Linked DNA regions of Homo sapiens: region 2 is linked to region 1. Evidence: promoter capture Hi-C in 16 types of primary human blood cells and fetal thymus (Javierre and others, 2016). All regions are on one chromosome and are shown on one strand. The core of a region is centred on a gene start or on the middle of the fragment in contact, and the rest is flanking DNA. Distances in the headings are between cores, read along the strand shown.

Region 1 (5,841 bases), core at 2,008-4,507:
GCGCTTGCGCAGGAAGTCTGCGGCAGGAGGGCGTCCTCTTGACTCTAGGAGAGCTGGGAGGGGGAGGGAAAGCTTGATCTGTCTCGGAGCCTGCGCAGTGCGAGTGGACGGTGTCTGGGTGCCGAGAATACCGGCCCAGGTTTCGAGCGCGCCTACGCACTGTGTCCTTTGGTACGTTCCACCTTCTTGACCCTGTTGCATCCCTGTCTTCTCGAAAAGGGGAGTTTCATATGGTAAATGAACACTCCTTAGAGAGGATTTAGATGATGAGCCTCCCAAACACGAGAAATCCCCGTTGTGTCAAACCCACCTACCTACCCACCCTACTACCCACGGAGTCACAGCGGGATTTAGGGCGGCACTTTGATTAATCAACATACAATAATATAATCAAAACGGTAACCGCATAATTTAGATTGCCATTTAGATTTATTCTAAAGTGGGTTAATCCGATCTAAAATTTTCATTTAGATTAGATTAATCCATCTAAGGAAAAAGTGTGCCCAGCTCATTGGCATGAGTTCAAGGTATAGTAACTGGTTCTGGGCCCCCCCGAGAATAATTCTGGCACCAGAGGGCGTCCTTCATGTGGCACAGCTTGTGTGGAGTAGAGCCTTCCTAGAGTTTAGATGAAATATTTCCTTCAAAACAGTCAACCTTTCTTGCTTTCAGTTTATTTATTTCAACACTCAGTTGTAGGGGTAAGTAGAGTGGTGAAAAGAGACCAGGAATTTTAGACTCAAAGGCCTCCGGGGATAGGCAGGTAAGTAGGATCAAGGAGTGCAAACAGCCAAGTGTGATGTAATGGGGTGGACTGGGGGCTGGAGTAAGAACTACGGGCTGCAGTGGCCGCTCACCTCCAGCCCATTGTGCTAGATCTTTTTCAAGAGTGCCAGGAAATCCAGGTGTTTACATAAAATCTCTTGATTTTTAAATATTGCCAATAAATTGATTTTTTTTTTGAGACAGAGTCTCACTTTGTCGCCGAGGCTGGAGTGCAGTGGCACTGTGTCGGCTCACTGTAACCTCCGTCTCCTGGGTTCAAGCAATTCTTCTGCCTCAGCCTCCCGAGTAGTTGGGGTTACAGGCATCCACCACCACGCCCGGCTAGTTTTTTAAAAATATTTTTAGTAGAGATGGGTTTTCACCATGTTGGCCAGGCTGGTCTTGAACTCCTGACCTCAGGTGATCTGCCTGCCTCGGCCTTCCAAAGTGCTGGGATTACAGGAATAAATTGAATTTTTGATACAACACTGCAAGCCAAACAAAAATATGCATGCCCATGGACTGCTGGTTTATGTCCCTGACAGTCAGGGTCACTGCCCTTGTGGAGTTGAAGGCCAGCGGGAGAGAGAGCCACTAAACAAATAATAAGATAATGAGGCTGGGCGCTGTGGCTTATGCCTGTAATCCCAGCACTTTGGGAGGCTGAGGTGGGCGGATCACCCGAGGTCAGGAGTTCGAGACCAGCCTGGCCAATATGGTGAAACCCTGTCTCTACTAAAAATACAAAAATTAGCTGGGCGTGGTGGCGTGTGCCTGTAGTCCCAGCTACTCGGGAGGCCGAGGCACAATAATTATTTGAACCCGGGAAGAGGAGACTGCAGTGAGCCAAGATGGCGCCATTGCACTCCAGCCTGGGCGACAGAGCAAGACTATGTCTCAAAAAAAAAAAAAAAAGGATAATGACAGATTGTGAGAGGTGCCAAAAAGGAGGTAAACAGGGTGATGTGAAAGGGCCAGGCTCCTTCAGATGGGGTGGTCAGAGAAGGCCTCTGGGGAGGCAGCATTCTGGCTGACAGAGGGTAGGAAGGAGTCCACTGTGGGGCAGGGCATGTGCCCACCAGAAAACTCAGAAAAACTCTGAGGGAGGAAATGCTAGGTGTACCTGATATATATATGTGTATGTGTGTGTATATATATATATATGTATATGAGTGTGTGTATATATGTGTGTGTGTGTATTTGTGTATATATGTATATATATATGTATGTGTATATATATATATATATAGACAAGGTCTCACTCTGTCACCCAGACTGGCTGGAATGCAGTGGCATGATCATGGCTTACTGCAGCCTCAACTGCTTAAAGCAGTCCCCCTGCCTTGGCCTCCTAAAGTGCTGGGATTACAGGCAGGAGCCAGTGTGCCTGGCCTGATACTTTGTTTTGATTCTATATTTACTAAATAAACTTGATTAATAGTTTGGTTTCCTTGACATCAGGAAGGAGGAACCATGGCTAGGTCATGGGCATCCCAGTCTCATGGTCTTCCCCTTTTGAGAAGCTAAGGCCCCAGTCAGCCAACTTGGGAACCTTTACTATCAGGCAAAATTCACCCCCGACATTTCACGTAGGTTCTTCTCTATTTTCCTTAAGTGTTGGCTGGTCCGAGAAATAAAGGGACAGAGTACAAAAGAGAGAAATTTTAAAGCTGGGTGTCCGGGGGAGACATCACATGTCGGCAGGTTCCATGATGTCCCCCAAGCCGCAAAACCAGCGAGTTTTTATTAGTGATTTTCAAAAGGGGAGGGAGTGTACGAATAGGGTGTGGGTCACAGAGATCATGTGCTTCACAAGGTAATAAGATATCACAAGGCAAATGGAGGCAGGGCAAGACCACAGGACCACAGGACCGGGGCGAAATTAAAATTGCTAATGAAGTTTCAGACACACATTGTCATTGATGATATCTTATCAGGAGACAGGGTTTGAGAACAGACAACCGGTCTGACCAAAATTTATTAGGCGGGAATTTCCTCGTCCTAATAAGCCTGGGAGCGCTACAGGAGACCGGGGCTTATTTCATCCCTCAGCGATGACCGTAAAAGACAGCTGTCCCCAAAGTGGCCATTTCAGAGGCCTCCCTCAGGGACGCATCCTCTTTCTCAGGGATGTTCCTTGCTGAGAAAAAGAATTCAGCGATATTTCTCCCATTTGCTTTTGAAAGAAGAGAAATATGGCTCTGTTCTGCCCGGCTCACGGGCAGTCAGAGTTTAAAGTTATCTCCTTTGTTCCCTGAACATTGCTGTTATCCTGTTCTTTTTTCAAGGTGCCCAGATTTCATATTGTTCAAACACACAAGCTCTACAAACAATTTGTGCAGTTAATGCAATCATCACGGTCCTGAGGCTACATACATCCTCCTCAGCTTATGATGACAGGATTAAGAGATTAAAGTAAAGACAGGCATAGGAAATCCCAAGGGTATTGATTGGGGAAGTGATAAGTGTCCATGAAATCTTCACAATTTATGTTCAGAGATTGCAGTAAAGACAGGCGTAAGAAATTATAAAAGTATTAATTTGGGGAACTAATAAATATCCATTAAATCTTCACAATTTATGTTCTTCTGCCATGGCTTCAGCGGGTCCCTCTGTTGGGAGTCCCTGACATCCCACAACACTTTGCCCTGACGGACATTGTTCTGCTGGAAAGGGTTTTGGGAGAGAGTTTGAATGAATGAATTGGAGCTGTCCTTCCCAGTGTGCATGCAATATTTTGTCACACTAAAATATTTTTTGAGACAGAATCTCGCTTTGTCGTCCAGGCTGTAGTGAAGTGGTGCGATCTTGGCTCACCACAGCTTTCACCTCCTGAGTTCAAGCTATGCTTCTGCCTCAGCCTCCCAAGTAACTGAGATTACGGGCAGGTGCCACCATGCCCAGCTAATTTTTGTATTTTGGGTAGAGAAGGGGTTTTACAACATTGCCCAGGCTGGTCTTGAACTCCTGACCTCAAATGATCCGCCCGCCTTGGCCTCCCAAAGTGCTGGGATTACAGGTGTGAGCCACAACACCCGGCCAAGACTCAGTTCTTTTTTTTTTTTTTTTTTTGAGACAGGGTCTGGCTTTGTCACTTAGGCTGGAGTGCAATGGTGCCATTATAGCTTATTGCAGACTTGAACTCCTAGGCTCAAGTGATCCGTTTCAGCCTCCTGAGTAGCTGGGACTACAGGCATGTGCTACCATAGCCAGCTAATTTTTTAAATTTTTGGTAGAGATGAGGTCTCACTATGTTGCCCAGGCTGGTCTTGAACTGCTAGGCTCAAGTAATCCTTTACCTCGGCCTCCCAAAGTGCTGGGATTACAAGCATGAGCCACCGCACCAGGCCTGAGACTCAGTTCTTGACTTGCCACCAGCTTTGTGGGTGACCTGGTTTACCTCTTGGCTTCAGTTGTATGCCCCATAAAAGGAGCACTGGGTGATCTCTTCCTGGGTCTGAAGTCTGAAGCGCTGTTTTCCCAAGTTGGGAGCATTTCCAGAAGGGTCTTCCGAAGTCTACCTTCCAGTGTGGGAGGTTACCCCAGCCCCAGGAGCCTGAGGAGTAATCATGGAGGCAGGAGTAATTAGTTTGAAAGTGGCATGCATGCCTGCTGTTAATGCTGGCTTCTTTATTAGTGTGCTCCTGGCTTTGAGATGCTGTCACCTGGGCAGCCAAGGGCAGGGTACAAAGCACAGGCTCTGGAGTGTCTGTATCTGAATATCATCTCCATCTTGTTGCCTGGGCGACTTAGCCCCTCCCAGCCTGCATTTTCTCCTCTGTACGACAGAGACAATAATGCCCTTCTCATAGGCTGTTGAGGGGATTTAAAGAGGAGACTATGTACAGCCGGATAAAAATGTAAAGTTATGAAACCACTATATAGATTATACCAGTTTCCCAGAGGGGAAGGGAGAGAGAGAGCCTCCGAGAGCAGCAGGGGACAGGAGTGAGCCCCTCTGAATGAGGATGGGACAGAGGTGGGCACCTCTCCATGGTGATCTCCTTGGGATGTGACAAGGGCATGGCTGTGTAGGACACCTTGGGACCCTCGACCTCAATAAGATTCTCCAAGGCCACCAACGTGGCACGGAAGCAGCAGAATCTCCCTCCAGGAAGGGATTGCACCCTCTGGGAAAATAGACATCTCCATGGTAACCAAGGCAGATAGATGATCTGGTCTAGGGGCTCCTTGTAGCTCTGGTGCTCTAGAAAACCTTGTGAGCGAGAGAGAATCCTGGGGAGGGCTGGAGCCCCTGTCATTTCCAAGGCTGGATTTCTGAGCAGCCCAGTGGGATGTTAATTGGCAAGGATCTCACTTGATTTAAAGAAAGTCCAATTAATGCCACATTTCTTGCATTCCTTATTTGGGACTTAACGACCCACGTATGTAAGTGACTAGAATAGTTCCCCCTCCCCCGCTCCCATGCACATAGAAGGTCCCAGTGAATGAAGGCTGCTGTTCTTACCACTTGGAGAAGGAGGGAGACCCGGGCCTGTTGCAGCTTGATCTGCAGCCTGCACAGGGTAATGATGAGATGTGCAGGTCGGGCATCAGCTGGGGTTCTGCTGGCAATACATCAATTCTTCAAACCTGCCTAGGGTAGATGCTGGGAAGGGACATGGGGGAAACTTTTTTTTTTTTCTTTTTTGAGATGATATCTCACTCTGTCTCCCAGGCTGGAGTGTAGTGGTGCGATCTTGGCTCACTGGAACATCCGCCTTCCGGGTTCAAGTGATCCTCCCGCTTCAGCCTCCCAAGTAGCTGGCATTACAGGCACCCACCACCACGCCTTGCAAATTTTTGTATTTTTAGTAGAGATGGGGTTTCACCATGTTGGTCAGGCTGGTCTCGAACTCCTGACCTCAAGTGATCTGCCTGCCTTGGCCTCCCAAAGTGTTGGGATTACAGGCGTGAGCCACTGCGCCACGCCCGGCCTGACATGGGGGAACCTTATGGGGTGCTGGAAATGACCTTCCTCTTGATCCAGGTGGCAAAAATCTATTGAGCTGTACCCTTATGGCTAGTGTGTGTTGTGTGTGTATGGCGGTTATATTTTACCGCCACCTCCCAACC
Region 2 (5,867 bases), core at 3,358-5,857, 1.4 Mb after region 1:
AGAGAAGGGGAGGGGCTTCTGAACCACAATTGGTGGTGCACCATGACTTGCTTGGTGCGTTGGGGGTGGGCAGCAGAGGAATAGGAGATGTTGAGTGGCATGAGGCAGGGTAGGGGAGAGGGTGTTGGATTAAGGCCTGTCTGGAACACCTCCTTCCAGGTGGGTCTGAACTAATTTGAAGGAAGAAGGTGGGAGACAGATGCACCACGTGTGGCTACACAGGCAGGGCCTTGAACAACCCCAGGGGGTGCCATTCACATCATAGTCTATGGAATGGTTCCCCCTGCAGCTGTGCAGCATGGTGGCCTGTGGGGAGAGCCTGAGGCAGAAGACAGAAAGCAGACTGAATTCTGAGGGACCACAATTCTCCATTGAGTTTTCTCCCCATACACACCCCAACTTGCCCCAACTTTCCCTGCCTCCAGGCCTCAGAGGGGGCCTCCTTCTGACTAGCGATCAGAAGCCAGTAGTAATCTCCCCACTCCTCAGCCCTGCTCCCTTCTTTTGTTGGGGAGATGGGCAAACAACCACCATGACCCACAGGTCCTGGGCAGGGCAGGAGGAGGGCTCACAAAGGGCTCTGGGGAGTCTGGACGTCCCTTCTGTAAGGTGTCTCCTAGCCCCACAGCTCACCAGCCTGTGAGCCTGCTGGAGCCTGTCCAGCAGCTCCATTCACACCAGTGGCCACAGGCCACCCAAACAAACCCAACTCTGACCTCCTTCTAGCCTGGACACAGACTCTTTCCACATGGAGACTTATAAACAAACCAAGCTGGGATTTTCAGAGACCCTGCACAAAAAAGCAGATGGGAAAATGGACCAGGTGTGCCTGGCTCGTGGTCCTCCTTGCTGCAGTAGGGAAGGGAAGCACACTGAGCTGTGGTGAGGAACCATGACAACAGAAAAATGGTGCAAAGGGAGGGCCTGGGTTCAGGTCTCAACACAGCCAATGACTGATTGAGTGTTCTCTCTAGGCCTCAGTTTCCTTCTCTGCAAGGGGAAGGGATTGCCTAGGTAGCCTCTAAAACCCCTTCCAGCTCTGAGTCCAGCTGGATAAAGAAAACCCTGTAGGGTGCCAGGACTCTTCCACCCAGTCCAGCCCGGCCCATCTACCTGGGTCATGCCCCTCTGGGTAAGGTCCTGCCCCTGCTCCCCATGCCTCCTTGCTGTCTTCTGCCCCTCTGGCCCTTCCTCACTCCTCTGCCTGCCTGCTTACCCTCACCTTGGCCAGCCCCTCTGCCTGCCCCGTGCTTTTCTGCACGTCCCTCCTGCCAGGGGACTGACCAACTAAAAATAGTCCCTGCAGCCTTTCTCGCCCACAGCTGCCCAAAGAGCAGGAAATGAGGGGGGCAGGGAGGCCCATGCCCTGCCTTACCCCCACTAACTCCCAGGTCAGAATCATGTCCAGCACTCCAGCCTGGGGCTAGCGCCAACTTGGCCATCCTGGGGGCATCCCACACCCCTTTCCTAGGGGGAGGCCTGCCCATAAGTGCCTGCAATCACAGAGCTGCCCCTACCCTGCGGGAGGAGGAGAAAGGAGGCAAGCGGTCTAGAGGGAAACCTTCCCAATTTCTGACAAATCAGTGCCAACCACATTGTGGGCACCCAAAGGGCAGGGCCTGGCTCCACTGACTGGTCTTTTGAGGGCAGAAGGAATTGGCTTGGGGAAGTTTGTGACAGTCTCCTTCATCCTGGCCCAACTGGAGGGAAGACAAAATAGTGCCCCAGCCTCAATTATGTTAGTCCCTTGCTCCCCAAAACCAGGGATTTCACTAGCCACCTGCAGATATCATGGGGAAAAAAACTAAAAAATGAGAGCAGGAGATGTAGGCTTCTGTAAAGAGAGAAGCCTGGAGGCAAGAATAGGCCATGCCTGCCAGGCTGGGCATGTGCTGCCCCCAAGCTGAGTCAGAGGCTAGGAGGGAGAAGCTGGGGTGCTACAGTGCCAGAGGCTACTGTGCCCCCACCCCTGTCCCACCTGGGATTCCTGACACCTCCCAGCCCTAGGGGAAGGCCCTCCCCACAAAGGAGGAAGGAAACCAGCTAAGCGACTCTCTGGAGCCCTGCAGGGGAGCCCTGCACCACAGGCAGGGAAACCCAGGAGTCCTGGCGCCCAGCCCAGAGACAGTGAAATATCTTGGAGGGGAGGAAACAGCCCAGATTGAGGCAGACATGTGGCACCCCCAGAAGCTCCCAGATGTGACCTACTGGCCAAAGGGGCTAGATGAGGCAAAGTGAAACATTTCTGAACAAGAAGAGAGAAGAAAGTGGGGCTATGGGAATGGGGTGGCGGGGGTCAGCCTGGCTCATCGCTGTCCTTTCCTCCTTGTCAGAGTCAGTGACACTGACATTAAGGTCATCGAATATCAACCAGGTCCTGAGGACCTTGGTGTGTTTCCTCCTCTCCTAGTCTCCAGACCCCAGCCTGTTCATTCCTGAGCTTCCTCTGGCACCCCTTCCTTGGGGCCAAGCCAAGTAAGAAATCAGCAGGCCCAAGGTGGTGCTTGGGAGGCCGGGGCAGTGCCAGGGGCAGTCCTCATACCATCCTCCCACTGGCTTCCCTCCTGCCTGCTCTTAGCCGCCACACATATCTCAGCTGTCGAATCCGATTAGGGCTCCTGCCCAGTGAGCCAGACAAGGAGGCCACTGGGCAGGGGAGAGAGAGACAAGGACGCCAAGCAGGGATGGCAGAAGGAAGGTGGAGACATGGCTCAGGGGAGCAAGTATGGGGCCCCAGAGGAAGAAATGCCTGGTGGAGAGATCTGTACTCTGTGACCACAGGTGCTCTGGTAACAGCTACAACCTGCATTAGGGGAATTCTGCAGTAACCGGGGCAATAGCCCTGCCTAGTTCCTCCATCCCCCAGATGGGCAAAGGATGGGGGAAGAAAACTAAAGGCGGAGAGATTGACCTAGATTTAGGAAGAGGATTCCATCCTAGATTCCCCCAGCCATTACTACCGTTTGCAGTGAGCTTTACGATACATTGTCTCTGTGGTTTTAGTGGCAATGTCCCTGCTTGCTACTGATAGCCATTTTTACAAATGGAGAAACTAAGGCTTAGCAAAGGGGAAGACCTATATAAACACATATAGTTAAGTAACCAGTCTAAGTCTCCAGTTCAGGCCTCTGATTCCTAGTTCACTGCTCACAGTCAGAATCTCTACTTTCCTTGTTGGATCAAGACCAGAACGAAGTCTGAAGCCAATTCATTATCCACCCTGTCCTCTAAAACCAACCTTTAGGGGACCCGGGGAGCCATGGAAGAATGCAGAGCACACCCCACACCTAGACAGAGCTACCAGATGGGGACATGCCACCCATTCCTATCATACATTGATTGCTAGAGGAGTTCCCTCAGTGTGACCAGTCTCTTCTATCACCCCCCTCCCCAGTCTACTACCCCCAGAAGCAAGACACACACTCACACATGGTAAGTCAGACAAGGTGTACACCCTTCCTGTAAACCCACCAAACCAGAATGACACGCCCTAGATCTTCAGAGAGCAGGGCCTGTCTGCCCACCACAGGAGAGAAAAATAAGCCACTGTAAACAGTAGGTGCCATCTAGCCCTCTCCCAGAGAGCCTGTAGCGGGGCAGAAGCTTGGGGACCTTGTAGCTCTAGAGAAACACCAGGAGCCTGAGATTCTGAAAGCCAAGAAGCTCAGGGAGCTGGCAAGGCTGGGTGACCTCCTCAATCTGGTCCACACCCCCTTCCCTAGCCATCTGGACTGAGCCTGTTCTGGCCTGGGCCACACTCTGGTATCCCTCCCCTTCAATGCATGCAGCCACCTCTATCCAAAGCTTCTAGATCTTACAACCACATTGTCCCTACACACACACACACACAGGTGGGGTCGGGGGGCTTCTGCAGCAGGTGTTGAAATGTTGACATGGATGGGGGCTCTAAGCTGAAAGAACTTTCCTAGAGGAAAAGCTCACCAAAATGCTCACAACCTCCACTACCCTCTAGCAAAGCCTTTAGCCACCCAAGTGTGAGATGAACCTGGAAGGGGACATTAGTTCCCCTACAAGGTGTGTAGGGAGTAGGGGCAAAGTCCTGAGCTCTTTGGGTGAGGAAGCAAGAAAGAAATCCCTTGGGAAAGCTCAGGTCCCTCTCTGGCTCTCTCCTCTCTCTGTTACCTCAGCACTTGCCAATTCTCCAGTCTAGGTGAGGTGGGGGAAGGGGTATTAGGCAATACCGCAAAGGAGGGTGCAAGGGCGTGGGGCCTGGGCAGACCTTCCCCCTACTCCCCACTCTTATCTAGAGAACGGGAACTGCCTCAGGAGAAATGCAGGAAGGGTGCTGGAGGGTGCAGAGGGCTCTGAGCTTTCAGACACCCCACTGTTCCCAGGCTCCCACCTCCCAGGACTACAGTGAGCGACGGGAGAGGAGGGATGGGGAAAGCCAGAACTGGCGAGAAGGAAATGGCTAGATCAGAAGCAGAGGCCGGGGTCAAAGGCGGCCAAAGAATTGGGAAGGGGTGTGCATGGTCCTACCTGCTCAGGTGTGTGCTGGCAGGGGGCCGATGGGGTTCCCAGGAGAACCGGGGAAGCCCTCTCAGCTCGATTCAGGATTCCCCCCTGCTTCTGGGTTAGGCTGCTGCAAGAGGCACGGGTTCCCGTTGGGTCCTAAAGCCCACTCGCCAACTAGAAGGCTCTCCCCGCCCTCTTCCACCAGCCAGCCCCGACTGGGTCAGCGGGCGCAGAGCGAAGGACTGATGGGGGAGAAGTAACCCACTGGAAGAAAGATGGGCGTCTGGTCATCGGCTGGGGACAGGAACAGTTCCCTGTCTCAAATACACAGCATATGGATAACTCGAGGATAGGATGACCTGAAACAGGAGAAAATAGACATTTCTTCCTGCCTGCCCTGAGCAGATGGATTTAGGTTTTGGTGCTGGAGGTGGGGTTAAGATCTCTTTCCCTGCCACTCCTGCTAAGGCATTCAGCTAGAGATTTTGGAAAGGGAGCATTCATTTTGGTTGGGCGCTCACTTCTGTCCTCTTCCTCATGGACTGCAGGAGTCCCTTCATCCCTCCCAATTATTCCCAAGGACCTAGGAGGCCATAGAGGGTGAAAAAAGATTTTCAGCATGTAAAAAGTGCAGGCTCACTTAGATGGCAGCTGGAAACAGGGGAAACATGTAGGACCAATGTATGTGTATCTGGGAATGTGTGGGGTCTGCAAATACACATATATAGGCAAGAGTATAAACAGGTGGGGTTAGGGAAGGAGAAAAAAACAAAAAAGAACTTTGGGTTACACCTATTACTGGAAATGGTAATTGTCAGTGGAAGAACAGGACGTAGAACCTAGAGGTCAACTAGTGCCCCTACCCAGCCCTCAGTAATGTCCCGAATCTTTATGACCAGAATAAACAAGTTAAAGAGAGAATATTTTCCTAGATACCATTTAGGATAAATATAGGGGCAGAGGGACCTCAATACAACAGATCAACTTCAAGGTCACTGATTCAGTTTAGTATAGCCAGTCTTCTCAGTAGCTCAAAAGGGAGAATTCAGGTTTGGTGGGCTAGATGGGCAAGAGAAAGCTGGATAAGAATTCTGAAGTTGTGGATTGAGAACATTTTGCAAGGAGAGTTGCACATATCTCTAGCAGCAGAGCAGGGAAAACGTCATGAGGGGAAGGGCCAGAGGAAGTCAGCGACAGACTTGAGGGGAGAGGGCATGGCCTCTCCCTAGAAGGGGAGAAGACACCAGCAATGCCTCCACCTCTGTCTTGCAGGAAGAACTGAGTAAAGGAGCTGGACTAAGGATGGAAGGCCCCAGGGTGGAGTCCATGGGGTGAGTTTAGGTCAAACCTTTCACCCTAATGTGCCTCAGTTCTCTCCCAGCTGTTAAACA

The links. Contacts are between HindIII fragments. The CHiCAGO score rates a contact against its expected background, and 5 or more counts as called.
Region 2: a contact is called between the fragment with the promoter of RARA here and a fragment that was not itself captured in region 1, in 2 of 17 cell types (M0 macrophages and M1 macrophages). The highest score is 8.4, in M0 macrophages.

The regions. Positions count from the first base shown.
Region 1 is chr17:41,682,898-41,688,738 of GRCh38, reverse strand. No RefSeq gene overlaps it. Among named protein-coding and RNA genes, the nearest start is that of EIF1, 3.1 kb to the left of the region's middle. RefSeq lists a silencer at 1-29 and an enhancer at 1-153. The HindIII fragment of the contact is 6,365 bases long and covers 75-5,841 here.
Region 2 is chr17:40,307,920-40,313,786 of GRCh38, reverse strand. RARA (retinoic acid receptor alpha) reads right to left here and starts at 4,607. Exons shown (of 9, transcript NM_000964.4): 1 at 4,501-4,607. RefSeq lists enhancers at 1,321-1,821, 3,411-4,294, 4,606-4,735, 4,746-4,915, 4,295-5,180. The HindIII fragment of the contact is 5,393 bases long and covers 3,807-5,867 here.